2 separate regions of the Homo sapiens genome follow, and region 2 is linked to region 1. Evidence: promoter capture Hi-C in 16 types of primary human blood cells and fetal thymus (Javierre and others, 2016). All regions are on one chromosome and are shown on one strand. The core of a region is centred on a gene start or on the middle of the fragment in contact, and the rest is flanking DNA. Distances in the headings are between cores, read along the strand shown.

What was found. The method cuts DNA at HindIII sites, captures the fragments that hold promoters and counts their contacts. A CHiCAGO score of 5 or more calls a contact.
Region 2: a contact is called between a fragment that was not itself captured here and the fragment with the promoter of C3orf36 in region 1, in 1 of 17 cell types (megakaryocytes). The highest score is 6.5, in megakaryocytes.

The regions. Positions count from the first base shown.
Region 1 is chr3:133,928,395-133,932,034 of GRCh38, reverse strand. C3orf36 (chromosome 3 putative open reading frame 36) reads left to right here and starts at 2,223. Exons shown (of 1, transcript NR_161373.1): 1 at 2,223-3,640. The HindIII fragment of the contact is 5,965 bases long and covers 498-3,640 here.
Region 2 is chr3:133,832,078-133,835,737 of GRCh38, reverse strand. It overlaps RAB6B (RAB6B, member RAS oncogene family), which reads left to right. Exons shown (of 8, transcript NM_016577.4): 7 at 1,097-1,163. Among named protein-coding and RNA genes, the nearest start is that of SRPRB, 28 kb to the right of the region's middle. RefSeq lists a silencer at 1-161. The HindIII fragment of the contact is 9,695 bases long and covers 1-3,660 here.

The DNA.
Region 1 (3,640 bases), core at 974-3,473:
CTACTACTCCCAAGAAAATCTTTCTTTTCAGCTGTCAGCAGGGAATATAATAGTGTCACTTTCATTTCACTTCTAGAGCAAAGCTTAACAAACTTTCTTGAGTGTGTGACACTCACAGAGGATGCAAATTCCCAACACCCTCCACCCAGCCCCAGCGTCTACTTCTGTGGGTCTAATGGGGACCCAGGAATGGCTCTTTTAACGGCCCCCTCATGAGATTGATGTGGGTAGTTCCCAAATCCTGTGAGGTGGGCTGTCAGTGCAATAGAGCCTGGGGTATGCCCATTTGTGCTTAGGCCACTGAGAAATTTACAGGCTCGATAGGCCTTTGGTATGTTCAAAGGTGAGTGAAGGATAACAAGGTGAAGAGATGCCTGTGAATCTGATTTTTTGGATGGCTGCAACTAAGAGTCAATGGGCATGAAAAACAATCCAAGAGCTCACATTTATATGAGGCCCTTATCAGTACTGAGAGAGACATTCTCACTTCACAAGCTTGGATGTGCAAAAAGAAAAAAATCACTTATTTCTTTAAATCAGTTATTGATTTCAAACCCCCCATCCTACTGTCTGGCTGGAAATTCAATATCAACCATGCTTGGGTCTGGCTCCTAGAGCCATCTGAAGGTCCTTGGATGCCTACGCATTCAAGGGTGCCATTGTGGGTCTTTGGTCCCTTTCCCATTTGAGGCTGTTTAATGGCCCTGCTTCTCACCTGAGCCTGGAAACCCTACAAAGCCGAGACCCCAGGGTTAGGCCCACCTCCCTGTGCACACTCGCGGCTATGCCCTCTCCCGGCCCCAGTCCTAGGAAGCCCACTCCTCTGCACCACTCCCTCTCCCTACAGAATCCCGCTCCTCAAGGGCTGAACAAAAAAGCCGGAAAAGGAAGAGTGTGCAGGAACCTTTTTTATTCAATCCTTCTTTTACCCTTCTTGGAAAAAGCGCAAATACAGTGATAACTAAATACCGTATCTCTATCAATTATCCTTTGGCCCAAAGCCCTTTGGGGTGATCCTCCATGATGGATGCCCCATGTAAAGGTGAGGAATCTGATCCCGAGGAAGCAACCATTGTGGCCAATTTCACATAGATAATAGCTGGCCAGGTCTAGACTCAAACCAGGCTGTCCACTTCTCTCTGGTCCAGCCCAATTGCCCCAGCTGAGTCATTCTGAAGAGTCAGCATGGACTAAAATGGTGGGGAGGCCCCTCTTTTCCCACTGATGTTCACTGGCCCATGGGAGGGAAGTGGGGGAATCTCTTGAGGGCCATTAAGGTGGGTAACAAAGGCAAAAGAACCAGGTAACAGTTCATTTACTTACCTTCTATTCAACTAGCAACAACATCACAACTATTCATTAAACAGGGCCAATTTATCCCTATAGCACCATGAGTTAAAGAGAGTTGTGGAGAAAAGAGACAAAGAGGGAAGGGTTTTGAGAAGAAAAGGCCCTGAGAATCCTGCACACAGACCTTCAAGGGAACAGCTCCATCTGGTGACTGCTTAGCAGATTCTTGCTCAAGAAACAAAGCCATATTGTGATTTTATTCAACCACTCTCAAAGATGGAGAGATACAGTTAAGCTGGAGGCTGAAGCCAGTCAGTATCAAATTGATACTAAAATATTATATTGCAGCAAATCCAGAAGAAATACATCCTATCTTTCGCAACCACAGGAAGTAAATACCTGGAAGAAAGGTCCATCTCCTGCCAGTAGCACCAGACACCAGATTCATTATAACCTTTCATCAGAGATTAAATATGGAAACAGATCCTGGAAAAGCCCTTGGCAAATCATAAATGAGAGGAAGTTTTTCTCCATGGCATACCCTGGCCATTCCTCCACTCTCCAGCCACATCATGTCTCCAGCCCTGCTACAACTTGACAGCAATAATAATAACTAAAATGTGCACAGATCTTTACAGTTTACCAAGCCATTAACCCATTTAAAACACTTCTTTAATCAGTAAATCAGTGGGGAAAGGCTTGGCTATGCTGTGGTAACAAACCTCTCGAATCTTAGTCACTTGACACAACAAAAGATGGTATCTCGCTCACAGAACCTGTGGTGATCTGGGTGACTCTCAGGTCAGTGGCTCAGTAGTGCCCCTCTGCCTGCTCAGGGCCTGGAGGATTGGCCTGAGAGCCCCCCCAACCAGTGTCTCAGTAACTCAGACTGTTTGGAACCTGAGGTACCTCCATTTCATTATAAGCTGCCATGATGGATGGGGCAGGGGAAGAAAGTCCTGGAAGATCCCGCACTGCTAAGCAATGCTTTGTCCCAAAGTAACGCTCTTCACTCTGCTCCCAGCCTAGCTGCCGCAAGAGCGGAACAGAATATTCTGTGTGCTCAGGAGAAGAAAAGAGCAGATATGGTTGAGCACTAAAACCCTCTACTGTGGGTAGTGAACCTAGGTGGACACAGTTGCTCACCGGGACACTTAAACCAGCTTTGCGGGGCTGTCGGGGTTGGGAAGCACAGTCTGGAAAGATTTCCCAATGGAGGAAGCACCAATTGTGGGTCCCTGAAGCTGAGGGGATGATGCCCAGGCAAGGCCGAGGCAGTCTGCAGAGGGCTGGGGAGGTGGGAAAGACGATTTTGCTCAGAGGAGGCAGAGATGGGGTGGTGGCTGAGAGAGATGCAGGGTCAAGGAAAGGATGGCTTCAGAGAGGAGAGATTTGCTGGGGCAAAAGGCCACAGGATGGGGAGGCTGCGGGGTCCAAGAGGACAGCTGATGGAGCGAGACCCTGCAGGCAAGGAGGAGATGGGGTGACTCATGGCAGAATCGCACCAGAGTTCCCACAGCCCTGTGCGGCCACTATGACTAGTCCCATCCTGTACATGGAGAAAACGAGGCTCCTTCCAGTTGTCCCTCACGCCTCCCTTGATTTATGTACTACCTGATGTGTATAAGGACAGGTGGTGACAAACACATGGTCCCTACCCTTCAAGGACATATAATCCAGAGCTAAGACAAGACCTTAACACAGGGCAAAGTACTATGCTCTGAGTTCATTTGATGAGCGATGGGAGAACGGGCTTGATCCTAGCCATGCGGGAGAGACTGGAATTCAAGAGAGTCAAATGTGCTGGGAAAGACTTTCTGGGCAAAAGGAATAAGCAAAGGTGTGCAAAGGTAAGGAAGCAGGAAACCTTTGCACATCTTGAGAACTCGCCGGCCAGAGGCCTGTGAAGGAGCGCAGTGGTCAGGCAGGAGAGGCAGTCGGATGCAGGCTGAGACCATCCTGGAGGGTCTTGAGGCTGGCTTACCCCAGGCTGTGAGTAGTGGGCTCAGCCTAGTCCCGGCTCCTGGGTTAGTGCTCACGTGTCTCTCTGCCCCCTCAGGGCCTGGAGGAATGGCCTTAGAGCCCCCACCAACCACGCTCAGGAAGGCATTCCTAGCTCAGAGTACCCTCCTGGAGTCTACACTGGAAGGGGCTCCTGAGTGGGCCGCGCCACACCCCGAGGAGCAGAGGCGCAGTCCTCCCGCGTGCTCCCAGCACACTCCACCCCTACCCAGCACACCCACGGGGCCCCCACCTTGCTCACCTGGGGGGAACCACCCACTCTGCGCCCTCTCAGGGAGAGGTGGTGGCCGCTGCTCTATCCCCTCCCTCTCTTCCTCTTCCACCTTCT
Region 2 (3,660 bases), core at 337-2,836, 96 kb after region 1:
AGGACTCTACCCTCCTGACTAAGCACCTCCTAAAGCCCCACCTCTTTATACTGTCACATTGGAGATTCTGTTTCAACATAGGAATTTGCAGGGGGACCGGCATTCAGAACCTAGCAGTTCAGAGTCTTCTGTGCCTCATACTTCTGCCTCGTACCTGTCACCTCCAAGATTCCATCTCTGCCAGCACCCCATCTGCCACTTGCCACCTGTCCCCTGCCACCCACACCTGCCCAAACACACACACACACACACACACACACACACAGAAAACCCACATGTACGCAGACACACACCTTACCAAGGACACACACTATGCACACATTCCCCCCACACTTACACAAACACACACATAAAGATGCCACACGTTCACACACACCACACTCAAACATTCCCCCATATGCTTACACAAACATACATGCACCTACCCACACGCACCACTCACAACACACACATTTTCCACGCAGTCCTACAGATAAAACACATACACTGTACACACACTCCTACACACAATAAACAACTCACACTCCTACACATCCAAACAAGCCCACAAAATTGTGTTCACACTCCTGCATCCCTCGCGCTCTCAGAGAAGCCTCACCACTGTGCCCATGCAGCCCTGGCCCTGCTGTTCGCTGCCTTGGCGCCGGACCTGCAGGGCTCCCCAAGCAGAGTCATTCATCTCAAGGGCAAGTCACTTCCCCATGCCTGGTCCCCATGAGGGCTGTTTGCAGAAGCCCACCTTAAGGCCTGTCACCCAGAGGCCCAAACCATTTTCTGCACCAGAGGAAGTCCCTTGCAGTCACTGCCATGACCTAAGCTCATCCCAGTGACCCTATGGCCAGTCTGCTTGGGTGAGAGGCCACAGCTTTGTTCCTTCCTTCCACAAGCTACTGAGGCCTGCCCAGACCCAATGCTGTGAGAGGTGGGGGAGAGAGAACATAGGCACAGCCCCTGCCTTTGAGGGCACCGTCCGCTGGGCAGATGGGAGAGTAAAGCTGCAGGTTGGGAGGGGAAGAGGGGTGAGGGTGCAGGTGCAGTGAGGAGCAGAGGGGAGGGCCAGGGTTGGGGTTCACACTGCATTTCTTCATCTTTCCAGCTTTTTCGACGTGTGGCGTCGGCTCTACCCGGAATGGAGAATGTCCAGGAGAAAAGCAAAGAAGGGAGTATCCTTTTCCTTTGACAAGTGAGTGAAAAGATGTATAGAAGCCATTTATTCACTGAATATGTTAGTGCAGTGGACAGACACTCGCCCAGTCCCCGCCCAGCCTTCCCTGGTCTGCCGCGAATGGCACGGGGCCTCCTCTAGGCGGGATGCAGCTGAACCCTATGGTTTGGAGCCCCCGTCTGGCTCTAACCATCTACTTCTTCTTCCAGAATAGCAGGAAGATACCAAAGGGGTGTGCACAGAGTGATGCTGTGGGGTGGGGAGTGAGAAACAGCGACTTTGCCCTTCTTTACAGCGAGCATGTTTATGGGTTTCATGAACACAGGCAGAGTCTCCACTGCAGGGAAGTCTCTGTCACTGGGGATATGATCTCAACGTGGTTCAGTCTACTCAAGACAGCTCCCCCCTTCAGACAGATGCCCCCTCCTTGTCCCGCCCACCTTCTCTACCCAGCCCTGAACAGCTCCTGAGGCTCCCCACTGATCTGTGGGACCATTGCGCATCACCCACAAACCAGCCCCAACCTGAAGAGACACCTAGATGCTGAAACTGAGGTTCAGAGAGGTAGTCTGGTTTGCCCAGTGTCACACAGCATGTAAGTTACAGTTAGGATTCACACTCAGGCTTGCTTCCTCCATATCCAGCCCTATTCCATGTGGGACACTGTCCCTCTAAGGGCATTTGAGAGAATCAGATGAAAACTGTTTCAGCAGGGGAAGCCATTGCCCACACCTGGGCCTCCCCTGCATCTAGTCAGATGTCCCTGCCTGAGTAAGCCACCAGAAAACAAGCATGCAGATCCCTGGCTGGCATCCTTTACAGTGGACCTGTCCCTACACAGCAGCTCTCCAACATCCCCCACTGATCCTATAGGCCTCTGAGGGTAGACATCCCTGACAGATCAAAGAAGGGCCCTGGGAAGATGGAAGGGCACCTTTGGGCTGATGAGAATCAAAAGCAAAAGAAGCACACAGCTTAATGTTGGAGGCCTCATGGAGCTGCTGGGGCAGGGCGGGCAGGACACCAGGAGTCCCAGGGCTGCAGCAAGGGGGAGCCTGACACAGGCCTGGAGGGAAGCTAGGCCTCTCCAGCCTTGCTCAAGGAGCTCTCAGAGCAGACTCGAGACCCACCCCCCGGGGGGGTCAGGAAGGCTCACCAAGGAGCAGGTGCCCCAGCAGTCCCACGGTCTGTGTGTCACCAGAGGACAAGCAGTGGCCGAGAGGAGGGGGTTTGAGGAGTATCTCCTGGTTGGTCAGTTATGAGACTCCAATCACAGATAAGGAAACTGAGGCTCAGAAACTTAAACTAGGGCACCCCACGGCTCTCAGTAGCAGAGACAGGCTCCAGAGCTCAGGAGAGAGCCCCTGTGGAATCACCTGTCACATGGGACTCCTTTGAGGTTCCAGGAACATACAGAAGCCAACCTGAAGGGCAAACATAGGAGCAGGAACAAGGGAGAGGGGCAGACAAGGTGCAGGCGATCTCCGCTGTGCCTGCCAGCAAGGGGAAGGGTTGCACTGCCCGCTCTCCATCCCACCAGCTCCCAAGGTGTGGCACACTGGCCGGGGTGAGTGGTGATCGTTTCATTCACATTCTCCCAGAGTCGCGCTGTTGAGGGCTCCAGGCTGGGCCCACAGTCAGGTCAGACTGGGCTGAGTGCAGGGTGACAGTGAGCTCGTCATCGTCCTGGTATGCCTAGCGTTTCATCCAGCTACCACTGACCTTTGGGCCCCTTGGGAGAAAGGATACATGGCAGGTTGCAAACAGACTGCACAGGGTGTTGTGACCTGTGTCCCTTTTTCTAGCTAAGGGGTCCCCTCATCTGGGTAGATGTACCCCCATCCTTTCACTTCTGCCCAGGAGCCAGCTTGCTGGGCCTCTCACGAGGCAGGTGCTAGAGCGGCCACCAGAGGTCCCAGAGGGACCAGGCAGAGGCAGCCGTCATTCTGCTTCTTTCGGGATGGGGTGTTGGCATTTCTGCTTACTCACAGTCCAAATCCAGGTGTTTTGAAGGTGTGTGCTTTGGGGTCATGTTCATAATTGTGTTCCACATTGAGAGCAGCCACACAGAAGCACTGCTTTGTGGCGCTGTATAAACTGTTCACACCTGGCCTCACTTGCTCAGCTCAGGACTTGGTGAATGTGTGGCATGAGGTTTCCGTCTGCTGCTTGCAGGTCTAGATGGGGGGCTGCTGCACCTCTTCTTCACGTTCGAGACAGGAGGACCCCTCAGGGCCGCTCTGGCCAATACTTCTGCCCAGCAGCACCCTCCACTGGTCTGCTCTCAACAAAGTAGGAGCCAAGGGGCCACCAAATGGTAGAGCCATAAGCCCCTTACTGGTTCTACATACACAACCCCCCAACCCCCACTTTCTACCCAAATACAGTATGCGCCCATCACATGGGCCCCAGACTGTTTCTGAACAAGGCTGGCTTACGCAAAGAAAGAGCAGTAGTGTGGGCACTTCATGAAGTGGCTCTAAGCAGGTGAGGAC